2 separate regions of the Homo sapiens genome follow, and region 2 is linked to region 1. The links are contacts of gene promoters, found by promoter capture Hi-C in blood cells and fetal thymus (Javierre and others, 2016). All regions are on one chromosome and are shown on one strand. The core of a region is centred on a gene start or on the middle of the fragment in contact, and the rest is flanking DNA. Distances in the headings are between cores, read along the strand shown.

The links. The method cuts DNA at HindIII sites, captures the fragments that hold promoters and counts their contacts. A CHiCAGO score of 5 or more calls a contact.
Region 2: the fragment with the promoter of MIB2 here is called in contact with the fragment with the promoter of C1orf159 in region 1 in 1 of 17 cell types (fetal thymus); the score reaches 5.6 in fetal thymus.

The regions. Positions count from the first base shown.
Region 1 is chr1:1,111,780-1,118,334 of GRCh38, reverse strand. C1orf159 (chromosome 1 open reading frame 159) reads left to right here and starts at 2,246. Exons shown (of 10, transcript NM_017891.5): 1 at 2,246-2,275. RefSeq lists silencers at 1,576-1,625, 1,666-1,785, 1,956-2,555 and enhancers at 5,532-5,826, 6,045-6,546. The HindIII fragment of the contact is 13,608 bases long and covers 1-4,663 here.
Region 2 is chr1:1,610,901-1,617,187 of GRCh38, reverse strand. MIB2 (MIB E3 ubiquitin protein ligase 2) reads right to left here and starts at 1,688. Exons shown (of 20, transcript NM_001170687.4): 1 at 1,555-1,688; 2 at 574-680. RefSeq lists silencers at 754-843, 874-1,923 and an enhancer at 2,024-2,193. The HindIII fragment of the contact is 6,747 bases long and covers 1-6,287 here.

The DNA of each region.
Region 1 (6,555 bases), core at 997-3,496:
TGGGGCCTGCAGCCCGGGCCCGAGGCACACACACATGCACTGCACGGCTTCCCGCAGCTCCAGGACTTTGCCTTCTTCCCTCTGACAGGGGCCAACGTGTAGAGAGGTGCAGACCACCATGAGTGACGGAACAAGGGGCGGGGACACTTGTGGACCAAGCTCCAGCATAAGGACACGGTCACCCAGGGCCACAGCCCCAGGCCAAGCCGAGGGGTAGGGACTTGACACTGACACAGGCAGCTTCCGCAGCTGTGAAACCACCCGGGAAACGCTGGTCTTCAGGAAATAGTCAAGAAAGTGGACGCCAGGCATGGTGGCTCACGCCTGTAGTCTCAGCACTTTGGGAGGGCCAGGCGGGAGGACTGCTTGAGCCCAGGAGTTTGAGACCAGCCTGGGCAAAACAGACCCCCGTCTCTACAAAAAAATAAAGAAATATGTGTCAAGGCATGGTGGCACACACCCGTGGTCCCAGCTACTCTGGAGGCTGAGGTGGAGGATCGCTTGAGCCTAGGAGGTCCAGGCTGCAGTGAGCCACGATCATGCCACTGCATCCAGCCTGGGTGACAGCGTGAAATCCTCTCAAACACAAAAAAACAAAAAGGAAGTGGAAACACTGGCTCAGCTCCACAATGAGTTGCCGCAGACGGCAAGAGCCTGTGGCACAGACTGGACTCCGAGAAGGGGACCGCGACTGTGTCCTCCCCGTGGTCCTCAAACGTCGCCCAGGCCAGGTTCCTCTTAATGGGACCGACACAGAAGCTGCACGTCCGCGGGCGCATGGCCGGAAACCCTGCAGCTGTCAGCGAACCCCTGGTGCTGGGCGCCCACGCCCAGGTGTCCCACGGCCAGACACTGGTGGCATCAACTCCTCCAGAGGCCCTGAGGGAACCCTGGGATGGACCCTCAGGCGAACACTGTCCCTCTAAAGAGAAGACACAAATGTGACTTCCCCAGCTGTCCCCAATACTGTTTACAAAACATCCTCACGCTGTTAAGATGGGGGCTTTATTTCCATTGAAATCTCTGGCATTTAAACTTGGGATGGAACCCGGAGGCGGCGTCCATCAAGGAGGAACAACCCCAAGGCGCATGCAGGACGGGCCTGGGAGCTCCCGGGAGCAAGGGAGCTGGGGGGTCTGGGGGCCTGGGAGGTTGGGGGGTCTGGGGGGTTGGGGGGTCTGAGGGGTTGGGGGTATATGGGGGGTTGGGGGATCTGGGGGTTTTGGGGGGTCTGAGGGGTTGGAAGGGTCTGCGGAGGTTGGGGGGGGCCGCGACACCTGCAGCGCCCCCCCACCCTGCGCGCTGGCCCAGCTAGGAGAGGGCCCGGGGACACCGACAGGATTGAAGCCTTTGATGAGCGGACGGACGTCCCCAGTTCCTTCGGGGAGCTCCTTTAAACATGTTTGCCGAAAGCTGCGGGCGCCGCGGGACGCACAGAGCTGTCTTTTCTCCGAGGGTGGCTCAGAGGCAGAGCCCCGGAAAAACCCACGCGCCCGGCCTGTGGGGCAGCGACGCCGCCCAGACCCCGGGGCCGCCGAGACTCACGGGGGAGCGTCCTGAGACCGCAGAGCCCTGACCCGTCCGAGAGGCGAAGCCCCGGGAGCCCTCTGGGTCCGAGCCGTCCCAGTCCCGCACCCAAGGCAGGGTCTCTCCCGCCGCGCTCCGACACCGGCCGCCGAGGTCCCAGCACTGGCGCCGGCCGCGGACCTGGGGCGCATTTGGCGGCGGCTCGCGAGGCGCTCGGGGCGCTCCGTGGGTCTGGAGGGCGCTGGCCCCGCGCGCCCGCGGCCAAACCTGGTGCAGCCGCGCCGCCTTCTCCGATGAAGCCGAAGCCGCCCCGGCCGCCCCCAAACGCTCCGCCTCCGCCTCCGCCTAAACCGGCGGAACGCTAAGGACGCCGACGCTTGTGCGGTCGCCCGGGAGACCCCGACGACGCCCCGCCCCGTCTCCCGGCAACGCCAAGCAGCCGGCGCGCGAGGAATCCGGGGGAATGTAGTCCCTCCGTGTCAGGGACCCGAGACATGCGCTGGTTCTTCTAGGACTACATTTCCCAGGGCGCTTCGCGCCCCGCCCCGGCGCCCCACCCACGGCCGCGCGCGATGGTACCACCAGGCGAGGGCGGCTCTCGCGCGGGCCGCCGGGAGTTGTAGTTTTCTTTGGGAGCTGCGGGGCCTGGCGCCGGGGCCGGGGCGGAAGAAAGACTACAAGTCCCAGGGGGCGCGGCGCCACCGCCTGAGGGCGGGGTGTACGAAAGAGAAACCCGGAGGGCGCCGGGGTGAGTGAGGGGCTGGGGGCAGGCGTGAGGGTAGCGGGTTGGGGCGCTGGGGTCCGTCTGGGCGGCCGGGTCGGCGCAGGGAGTGCGAGAGGCAGACAAAGGTCGGCGGCCCTGGCCCGGCCCGAGGGACGTTCCCTGCGCGTCCCCCATTGTGCGGCGCGCGGAGGAGCCGCCAGCGCCTGGGCCCGCGTCCTCGTCGCCGCCTCCCAACGAGCCTGGCCGCGGTCCTATGGGGGAAAGGCGCCCGGGCTGAGCGGGACGCCTGGGGAGGGGAAGGGGCGTCTGAGGAGGGCAGGGGGACCCCGGGGAGGGGTGGGGAGGGGGTCCCTAAGGAGGGGAGGGGGTTCCCGGAGCGGGGAGGGGGGGTCCCTGGGGAGGGGAAAGGTTCCCGGGGCAGGGAAGGGGGTCCCTGGGGAGGGGAGGGGGTCCCTGGGGAGGGAGGGGGGTCCCTGGGGAGGGGAAGGGTTCCCGGGGCAGGGAAGGGGGTCCCTGGGGAGGGGAGGGGGTCTCTGGGGGAGAGGGGGCACCTGGGGAGGGGAGGGGGTTCTCGGGGCAGGGAGGGGGTCCCTGGGGAGGGGATGGGACGGGCGCCCGGGGGAAGAAAGGGGGCGCGTTCGCCTCGCCTTCCCGGCAGCCGGGAGTGGGGGCACCGGCGCGGTCCCCGGTGTCCTAGAAGTCGGCCACGATTCAGGTCTTTTTCCCGCGAGGCTTTAGGATTTGTTTTTGTCCGTTTGTCACCTGGAGTAGCCGAGGGCTAGTCGGGGTGCAGTTTTTCGGGAGCGCGTGTTCCGGTGGCAGCGAGTCGATGATTGAGTTTGGGTGTAATTTAAGCCCAGGTGTTCGGGGGCATTTCTTACCGCGTTTCAAAGCAAACGCGGCTTCTTCCCCGGGAACTATTTTGTGGCTGAATTCTTAGCCGCCTCGTCCTGTTAAATTTCAGGATGTCAAACTTGGCCTCCTTTTTTTGGTTTTCATTTTTCTTAGTATTACCAGGGTGTGCAGAGAAGGCAGAGCTGCGTCTTCCTCTTTTATTTTTCCGTAAGTTACTGGGGTACAGGTGGTGTTTGGTTACTTGGTTACATGGGTAAGCTCTTTAGTGGTGATTTGTGAGATTTTGGTGCTCCCATCACCCGAGCAGTACGCACTGCACCCTATTTGTAGCTTTTTATCCTTGTCCCCCTCCCACCCTTCCCTCCGAGTCCCCAAAGTCCAGTGTATCGTTCTTAGGCGTCTTCCTGTTTCCTGATGGCTTAACCTGGGAAACCCTCGCAGAGGGAGCCGGTTTTGAGCCCCAGGGTAGGGGCGGCCGCCTGGGATGTTCAGTGATGCGCCTGATTACTCAGGTTTATGTTCCCCGTTTGCATTCAGCCAGGATCCGTCATGGCCACGTTGTTTTTAACATACATGTTTATGAATTATACAGAAACGTTGTTTTCCTGACACACATCCCGCCCCCAGTACTCCTCCTAAAAGCCAGTCAGGCAGGTGTTTCCACACGCAGTCACCTCAGCCCTGGGGTGCACAGGCAGCATCCCGGGAACCCCTGAGATACCTCCCAGCTGCTCCCTGCCTTGCGGCTGCTCTCCACCTGAGCTTTGACTTACTGGGTAGCTCATTTAAAGAACAGCTAGCGCTGTGGGTGCTGGGGTGGGAGATCGCTTGAGACCAGTCTGGGCAACATAGGGAGACCTCGTCTCTATAAAAAATAAAAAATATTATCCAGGCATGGGGGCAAGCACCTGTGGCCCGTTACAGTAGGTAGCTAGTCAGACATGAGCAGGGCAGAAGAGGGGCCCCCCTCTACCAGGGACATTTGGCTGGTAAGAGAAGGCGGCCCTGGCTGTGCGCGGTGGCTCACACCTGTAATCCCAGCACTTTGCAAGGCCGTGGGGGGAGGGGGGCGGATCAGAAGGCCAGGAGTTTGAGATCAGCCTGGCGAATATGGTGAAACCCCGTCTCTGATAAAAATACAAAAATTAGCCGGGCATGGTGGCGGGCGCCTGTGGTCCCAGCTACTCAGGAGGCTGAGGCAGGAGAATCGCTTGAACTCGGGAGGCGGAGGTTGCAGTGAGCCGAGATTGCGCCACTGCACTGCAGCCTGGGTGACAGAGCGAGACTCCATCTCAAAAAAAAAAAAAAAAAAAAAGGCCTCGAGGGAGCGTGCGCACAACTCCAGTAAACTCTGTGCATGCTCCCTCCCAAGTGCCCGCAGCCGCTGTGCGGGTGGACGGCCCACCCCGAGGGAAGAATCGGGAGACGTAACACCCCGGAAGCCTCCAGCGTGGAAGACCCTAAGTCAAAGGTCAAACTGCGCACTTGATCTCTCAGGTCTCCTGCCTGGCCTTCTTCCAAGGGCGCTTTACTTCCTTTCATTCCTGCTCTAAAGCTTCTTCATAAACTGTTGCTCCTGCTCTAAGGTCTCTTCTGCCTCCTACCCGTCCATCAAACTCTTCTGAGGAGGGAAAAATTGAGGTTCACTGCTGCTAACATGCTTTGGTGTCAGAAGTGGGACATATTCTGCCACTAACAGTCCCAGCTACTCGAGGGACTGAGGCAGGAGGATCGCTTCAGCCCCGGAGGTGGAGACTGCAGTGAGCCGAGATCGCAACGATGCACTCCAGCCTGTTTCACAAAGAAAAGAAAGAGCCACCTCTTCTCACCACTCTGGCTGAGGGTTGCGTGTGCCGAGGTGGAGTGTGGAGCTCAGGTGAGCCTTCAGAGCTCTATTACTGGCAGAATGTATCTGAGTTTCAGCACCAAAGTATGTCAGCAGCGGCCTCGATTCTCGCTGCCTCAGAAGAAAGAATTTGATGGAAGGACATGAGGCTGAAGGAGAGACTGAGGCAAGTTTTTTTTTTTTTTTTGAGATGGAGTCTGTCTCTGTCGCCCAGGCTGGAGTGCAGTGGCACAATCTCGGCTCACTGCAAGCTCTGCCTCCCGGGTTCATGTCATTCTCCTGCCTCAGCCTCCCGAGTAGCTGGGACTACAGGTGCCTGCCACCACAACCGGCTAATTTTTTGTATTTTAGTAGAGAAGGGGTTTCTGCATTTTGGTCAGGCTGGTCTCGAACTCCCAACCTCAGATGATCCACCCACCTCAGCCTCCCAAAGTGCTGGGATCACAGGCGTGAGCCACCGCACCCCACCGACTAAGGCAAGTTTTAGAGCAGGAGTGAAAGTTGTTGAAGAAGCTTTAGAGCAGGAAGGAAAGGAAGTACCCTTGGAGGAGGGCCAGACGGGCGATGTGAGAGATCAGGTGTGCGGTTTCACCTTTTGACTTGGGGTTTTATAGCCTGGCAGGCTTCTGGGGTCTTGCACCCCTTCTCCCCTGATCCTTCTTCAGGGTGGGCTGTCCACCCATGCAGCATCTTGCTAGTACTTGGGCGGGAGCATGCGCCATGTGTTCCCTGGAGGGAGGGAGCATGCCCGGTGTGTTCACTGGAGGGAGGGAGCATGCCCCGTGTATTCACTGGGGGGAGGGAGCATGCGCTGTGTGTTCACTGGAGGGAGGGAGCGTGCGCGTTGTGTTCACTGGAGGGAGGGAGCATGTGCCGTGTGTTCACTGGAGGGAGGTAGCATGTGCCGTGTGTTCACTGGAAGGAGGGAGCATGCGCTGTGTGTTCACTGGAGGGAGGGAGCGTGTGCGTTGTGTTCACTGGAGGGAGGGACCGTGCGCCGTGTGTTCACTGGAGTAGTGCCCATGCTCACCTGAGGCGTTCTTCCGTTACCTGTCAAACGTCCCTAGAAGGTCATAGAACGGTTACACGCCGCCATTTTGCCTCTCAGTGCACACGCTTGAGCCAACTCGCCCAGTTCCTGAGATCGTATCGGGAAGCTGCCCATCACCGGATTTCATGTGTTTTCTAGCTATTGGGAGCCTGTCTTTCCCTGGCGCTGGGTGCAACCAGTTCTTTTAGACAGTTAACAGCCACCTGACCATCACCTGATGGTGGCCTGACATTCCCGGTGGGGGGATGGGCCCGATCCTGCCCTGCTCACGTCTGCTGAGCCACCTACGGCAACCGCCCGACTCCGGTGTGCTGAGCCCACGGGTAGGTGGGCAGCGACTACCATGCATGTCAACAAAGGGGGATGTCTCCTTTACACCCCATCAAGGGGTTTGCGGTATTTGTTTTCTATCAAAGCACGAGAGGGATCTTTAGGTAGAGAGGCCCCAGACAGTTCTTATTGGGCCCTTAAAGCTACGTTTCACGTTGGCTTCCTTTGCTTGCTACGAAGATGACCAGCATTAGCTACACGGATGCAGTGGAAGCTCCAGCC
Region 2 (6,287 bases), core at 439-2,938, 500 kb before region 1:
GGCCATGGAGTAGCTCCAGCTAACGCAGATGGACATCCCAGGTGCCCCAGGGAGATCAGGCCCACGGAGTGGGATGAAGCCCTGAGGCGGGGAGGCCAGCATGGAGACACCTGCTGAGGGAAAGCCCACGAGCGCTGCGGCCACCTCCAATCCTGCCCATCTGGGTGGAGACCTACAGGCACCCTGCAGGCTGGGGTGTCATCCCACTCACCGCCCAGGGCTGCCCTCGGCCAGGAGAGCGCCACATTCAGACACTTGTTGCATGTGAGGCAACAGGCCAGGGTGGAACCGGACAAAGGGGGCCTCCCGGGAAGGGCCAGGCTTGCCGGCGCTCCTGCGCTGCGGCCGCTCTGCCCCAATCCTGCAGGTGCCTATCAGAGGCCTGTCTGGCACCTCTGCTTTCTTCCTCCATGGGTTCCGAACTCAGAGAGGAGACGCGGGATTACTCACCACTCCCCTCCACTCGCATGCATGCTCAGACACAAACACAGCCTCTCTGACGTGGCTTCCACGGAGCCCCAAAGTGGGAGAGCCAAGTGCAAACTATCAGGCCGCGGACGATCAAGAGCTCACCTGTCCGGCCGTCCAGTCGCCCGCCGGGCCGCCTTGAGGCTCCTGGGCTGCAGCCCTGATGCCTGGAAACTTTGGGACTGGCCTCTAGCCTCGCTGGGCTTCCAACCCTGTGGCCGAGGGGAGATGCCAAGATGCACAGTTAGCACCTCGACCCGCGGCTCGGTCGCCTGTCTGCCCCCGGGGCTGCCCGCCGGCTCCAGGTCCACTCGGGCCCACGGCCGCGACACTCAGGGCCGCCGCCTGCCCGGATGGGCTCCCTGGGGTCTGAGCGCGCAGGAGCCGCCAGCGCCGGGCCCGTAATTGCGTGCGCCCGGGGTCTGGCGGCCGCGGCTCGCAGACGTCAGGAGGCTCCGGGACGCGCACGGGCGCCGGCGCAGGGGAACGGGCGGGCCAGGGGCGGGCACGGCGGGCACCCCCACCCGGAGCGCGCCCCGCCCCCTGTCATTCGTGCCCGTGGCTCGCGGAGGCCGCCCGGCCCTGTCCGCTGCCAGACCTTGCCAGGGCCGCGCAGTACCTGCCGACCCCAACTTGCCCGGACGTTTCCGTCCCGCCCGCTCCGCTCGGGGGCGCGGGACCGCCGGCCAGTCCGTCTGTCGGTCTGTCCCGGCGTTCGAGGCCACCCACCGGCCCCGACTGCTCAGCGGCGGCCAGGCCAGGCCAGAGCGCCTGCCGCGCGCCGCAGCCCACCCGGCCCGGACGACGACCCCAGCGCCGACCCCAGCGCCGCTGGCCCCGGGCCGCGCGAGGCCTGCCGGGAGCTGGAGTCCCGCGCGGGTGGCCGGACCACAACTCCCAGGAGGCCCCGCGGCGGCGCTGCGCGCGCAGCCCCAGCCCATCCCGTGCGGACCCTACGCCGAGTCCAGCCCGGGGCTGCTGGGCCAGCGGGAGCGGGAACCGGACGGCGCTCGCGTTCTGCCAGAGCGGAGAACGACTCGGGGACGGTGCGGAGGACCAGGGGAGGAGATCCGCGCCCGCACGCACCATCAGCCGAGAGGACGGCCCGCATCGCGCCAGTGACCTAGGAGCGACTCGGGGACGGCTTCGGGCTCCCAGGCCCTCCTGGGCCACCGGGCACTGAGGAGAGCGGCGGCTGGAAACTGTGGGACCCGAAGGGCGGGAGCCCAGGGCCCGCCCCCGCCGGAGCGCCCCCGCCATGGCCACGCCCCCGCCACGGGGATGGGCAGGGCAAGCACCGGAAGTGCGTCACGCGGGAGCGTCTGCGTCGCCTACCCTGCGTGGCGCAGCTAGGTTCCGAGCGGCTTAGCCTCCGGGCGCCTGCGCAGTGGCGGTCCTAGAGACGCACTCGGTTGCCATAGAGACGGGGGCTTGGGAGCGACGTCGCGCTCGCTGGCACTGGCGGCACTTGCCGCGCCGCAGCCACCTCTTTCCGACTCCACCAGTGCGGGCCCTATCCGGGGTTTTGAGTCACGCAGACCTGGACACAGCGAGAAACGGCAGTCCGGGCCCGTCCTCCCGCCCCGGGTTCTGCACCCCAGAGTTGGACGCTTGCTTCTCGCTTTCTCCTGAGAGAAGTCTCCGCGTTTCTGAACAATGCACTGCTAGTTTCTCATTTCTTTCTTTCTTTCTTTTTTTTTTTTTGGAGACGGAGCCTCGCCCTGTCGCCCAGGCTGGAGTGCAATGGCGCGATCTCGGCTCATTGCAACCTCCGCCTCCAGGGCTTAAACTATTCTCTTGCTTCAGCCTCCCGAGCAGCTGGGACTACAGGCATGCGCTACCACGCACAGCTAATTTTTGCATTTTTAGTCAAGACGGGGTTTCACCATTTTGGCCAGGCTGATTTCGAACTCCTGACCTCGTGATCTGCCCTCCTAGGGCTCCCAACGTGCTGGGATTATAGGCGTGAGCCACCGCGCCCGGCCTCTCATTTCTTAATTGTAGACATTGCGTACTTCCGGAGAAGGTCCCTGAGAACCTGGCTGATCTTCCCCGCTGCACCCCTCACGTGGTCCTGTTAGCTCCCAAACTGTCAACCTGAAAGGAAACCCAGAGGCAGGCTCTCCAGGACAAGTGAGTTAATCTGGGAATCGCAGGGGGTTGCAGCCTAGGCTGTTCGTGCCATGACAGATCATAGGCCTATCTGAGAGGGCCGGGCGAAGGGGAAAATACAGATGAGCTCACAAAAGTTGTTTTGTAACAAAAACCACTGGCTGTGGGCGCTTGCTGCAGGAGTGGGCGTTAGCTTGTTGTTGGAGAGAGCCTTACCAGGCCGACGTCCTTGTGCAAGCTGCTTATCTAGAATACTGCAGTCCTGAGGAATTTCCCTGCAGTAAGTCCGGTTACAGGCAAACGTGCAGGACGTGCAGGAGCGTCTTGTGAGGAGGCCTGCTGCAGGTATTCCTGCATGAGAGCTCCCCCTTCGTGGCCTCCCGACTCCATTTGTTTAGGGATTGGTGGAAGTAGTTCCATTTTGGTACCTGCAACTTTCACAGCTGTCGTGATGAAATCAGGCTTAGCTCTTCATGATTGAGTACCTGCTGTTCACTGCTACAGTATAAAACCATGCCACAATTCCTGTACAATCTTTTTTTTTCTTTTGAGTTAATAATTACCTAATATTTTCACATATCTAGCTTTTTACTAACCCATGGCCAGCCTTTTTTTCAAGTACCCCAACGTTTTCGCCACATGCCTAACGATACCGTTTTCCAAAGGCTCAAACACATCCGTTGTGTCTAACTGATTCTCCTGTTCCGACCTAGACCGATCACTTCCTGACCCGGCTGCACAGCTCTTATCTCGAGCTTTTCTCTGCTCTCATCCTTGAGACTCACTTTGTCTGTCTCCTTTCTTGGATTCCCTGTGTAAACGAAAAATAAAATCCTAAGCTCTCTACCAACTGTTTTTTGTTTTGTTTTGTATTTGAGACAGGGTCTTGCTCTGTTGCCCAGGCTGGAGTGCAGTGGCACTATCTTGGTTGACTGCAGCCTCTGCTTCCTGGATTCAAGTGATCCTCCCACCTCAGCCTCCTGAGTAGCTAGGACCACAGACATGCACCACCATGCCGGTTATTTTTAAATTTTTAGTAGAGACAGGGTGTCACCATGTTGCCCAGGCTGGTCTCAAACTCCTGGGCTATGCTGTTTGCTCACCTCTGCCTTCTGAAGTGCTGGGATTGGCTGGGTGCGATGGCTTCACGCCTGTAATCCCAGCAGTTTGGGAGGCTGAGGAGGGCAGATCACTTGAGGTCAGGAGTTCATGACCAACCTGACCAACATGGTGAAGCCCTGTCTCTACTAAAAATACAAAAATACAAAAAAAAAAAATATTAGCCAGGCATGGTGGTGCACGCCTGTAGTCCCAGCTACTTGGGAGGCTGAGGCAGGAGAATTGCTTGAGCCCAGGAGGTGGAGGTTGCAGTGAGCTGAGATCGTGACACTGCACTCCAGCCTGGGGAACAGAGCAAGAATCCGTCTCAAAAAAAAAAAAAAAAAAAGCCAGACGCGGTGGCTCATGCCTGCAATCCCAGCACTTTGGGAGGCCAAGGCAGGCAGATCATGAGGTCATAAGATCGAGACCAGCCTGGCCAACATGGTGAAACCCCGTCTCTACTAAAAATACAAAAATTAGCTGGGTGTGGTGGTGGGCACCTGTAATCCCAGCTACTTGGGAGGCTGAGCCAGGAGAATGGCTTGAACCCAGGAATCGGAGGTTACAGTGAGCCAAGATCATGCCACCGTACGCCAGCCTGGTGACAGAGGAAGACTCTGTCTCAAAAAAAAAAAAAAAGAAAAAAAACCAGCCAGGCACAGTGGCTCACGCCTGTAATCCCAACACTTTGTGAGGCCAAGGTGGGAGGATCACCTGTGGCCAGGAGTTGGAGACCAGCCTTGCCAACATGGCAAAACCCCATCTCTACTAAAAATACAAAAATTAGCCGGGCTTGGTGGTGCTCGCCTGTAGTCCCAGCTACTTGGGAGGCTGAGGTGGGAGAATTGCTTGAACCCAGGAGGCAGAGGTTGCAGTGAGCCAAGATCTGGCCACTGCACTCCAGCCTGGGTGACAGAGTGAGACTCCGTCTCAAAAACAAAAAAAACAAAAAAAAAAAAAGAAAAGAAAAAGAAAAAACAAAAGTGCTGGGATGTGAGCCACCACACCCAGCCAGCCCTCCACCAACTGAACAGATTCCCTTTTGACCAAGGGGACCCCAGAGAAATTTTTAAAACTGAGTTTCCAGCCGGGTGGATCCGCCTATAACCTATAAGCCCCCACTTCAAGATATCCCACCTTTTTAGGCCAAACCAACGTATACCTTCTATGTATGTATTTATGTCTTTGCTTATAACTCCTGCCTTTCTAAAGTGTACAAAACCAAACTAAACCGACCACTTCAGAACCACTTACTGAAGGCTTCTCGGATGTGTGTTTTCCTGGGGCCCACAGTCATTCATATTGGCTCAAAGTAAACCTTTTGAAAGTATTTTGTGAAGCTGGACATGGTGGCTCATGCCTGTAATCCCAGCCCTCTGGGAGGCTGAGGTGATTGGACCACTTGAGCCCAGGATTTAGAGACCATCCTGGGCAACATGTTGAAATCCCATCTCTACAAAATATACAAAACTTAGCTGGGTGTGGTGGCACGTGCCTATGGTTCCAGCTACTCTGGGGGCTGCGGTGGGAGGATCGTTTGAGCCTGGGAAACGGAGGCTGCAGTGAGCTGAGATCGCACCACTGCACTCTAACCTGGGCAACAGAATGAAGCCCTCTTTAAAAAAAAGAAGAGCCCGGGCGTGGTGGCTCACGCCTGTAATCCCAGCAGTTTGGGAGGCCGAGGCGGGCGGATCAGGAGGTCAGGAGTTCGAGACCAGCCTGAGGAACGTGGTGAAACCCCGTCTCTTACTAAAAACACAAAAATTACCTGGGCGTGGTGGCACACGCCTATAATCCCAGCTACTCAGGAGGCTGAGGCAGGAGAATCACTTGAATCCGGGACGCAGAGGCTGCAGTGAGCCAAGATTGCGCTGTTGCACTCCAGTCTGGGCAGCGAGAGCAAAACTCTGTCTCCAAAAAAAAAAAAAAAAAAAAAGAAGGAGGAAAGAATGTCTTATTCAGAGTTTGGCTTTTCTGTTAACAGCTGTTTCCTGGAATCTGCGTCCTCCTCCTTCTGGCTTTACTCCTTTACTTTGCTGAAGTAAGACCCCTAGTAACTTCCTGGGGAGGGCCCATGTCTGGACAGTTGCTTATTCTACTGGAAGGTTCACCAGAGCCCCTGCTTTCTCTCTGTGTCCTGCCTGAGAAGCACAGAGCCTGGCCCACTGCATGCTTTCCCTGCAGTCTTGAAGCCCGGCCAGGACCTTGAGTATTCTCAGTTACTGATGAACTAGGTTGTTGTCTGAAACACTGAGAGATCAAACATGTTGCTAAATATGTGGAAACAAGAGTCACATTTCTTAAATCCTCCTGTAAAACTCTCCACTCTAGCCCCTGGGTGCAGGCATTCCTAGGTGGAACCTCTCCATCTCTTGCTGTCAGCCCGAGGATGTGCTGCCTCCCTCTGTACATAAATTCCCCGAACAAATGCTTTGGGCCGATCACCCTGGCGTTTAGTGCTTCTTTTCTTTGGGACCAACCAGCCCCACCTCAGGATGGTTTGAGGCAGTCCCTTGTTGGAACTTGCCTGCTGCCACTTTTGGGGTGATTCTAGCTGTGGGCTGGAGGGATGAAACAGCAGCGTCGGCAGGATTCCAAAGAAATGG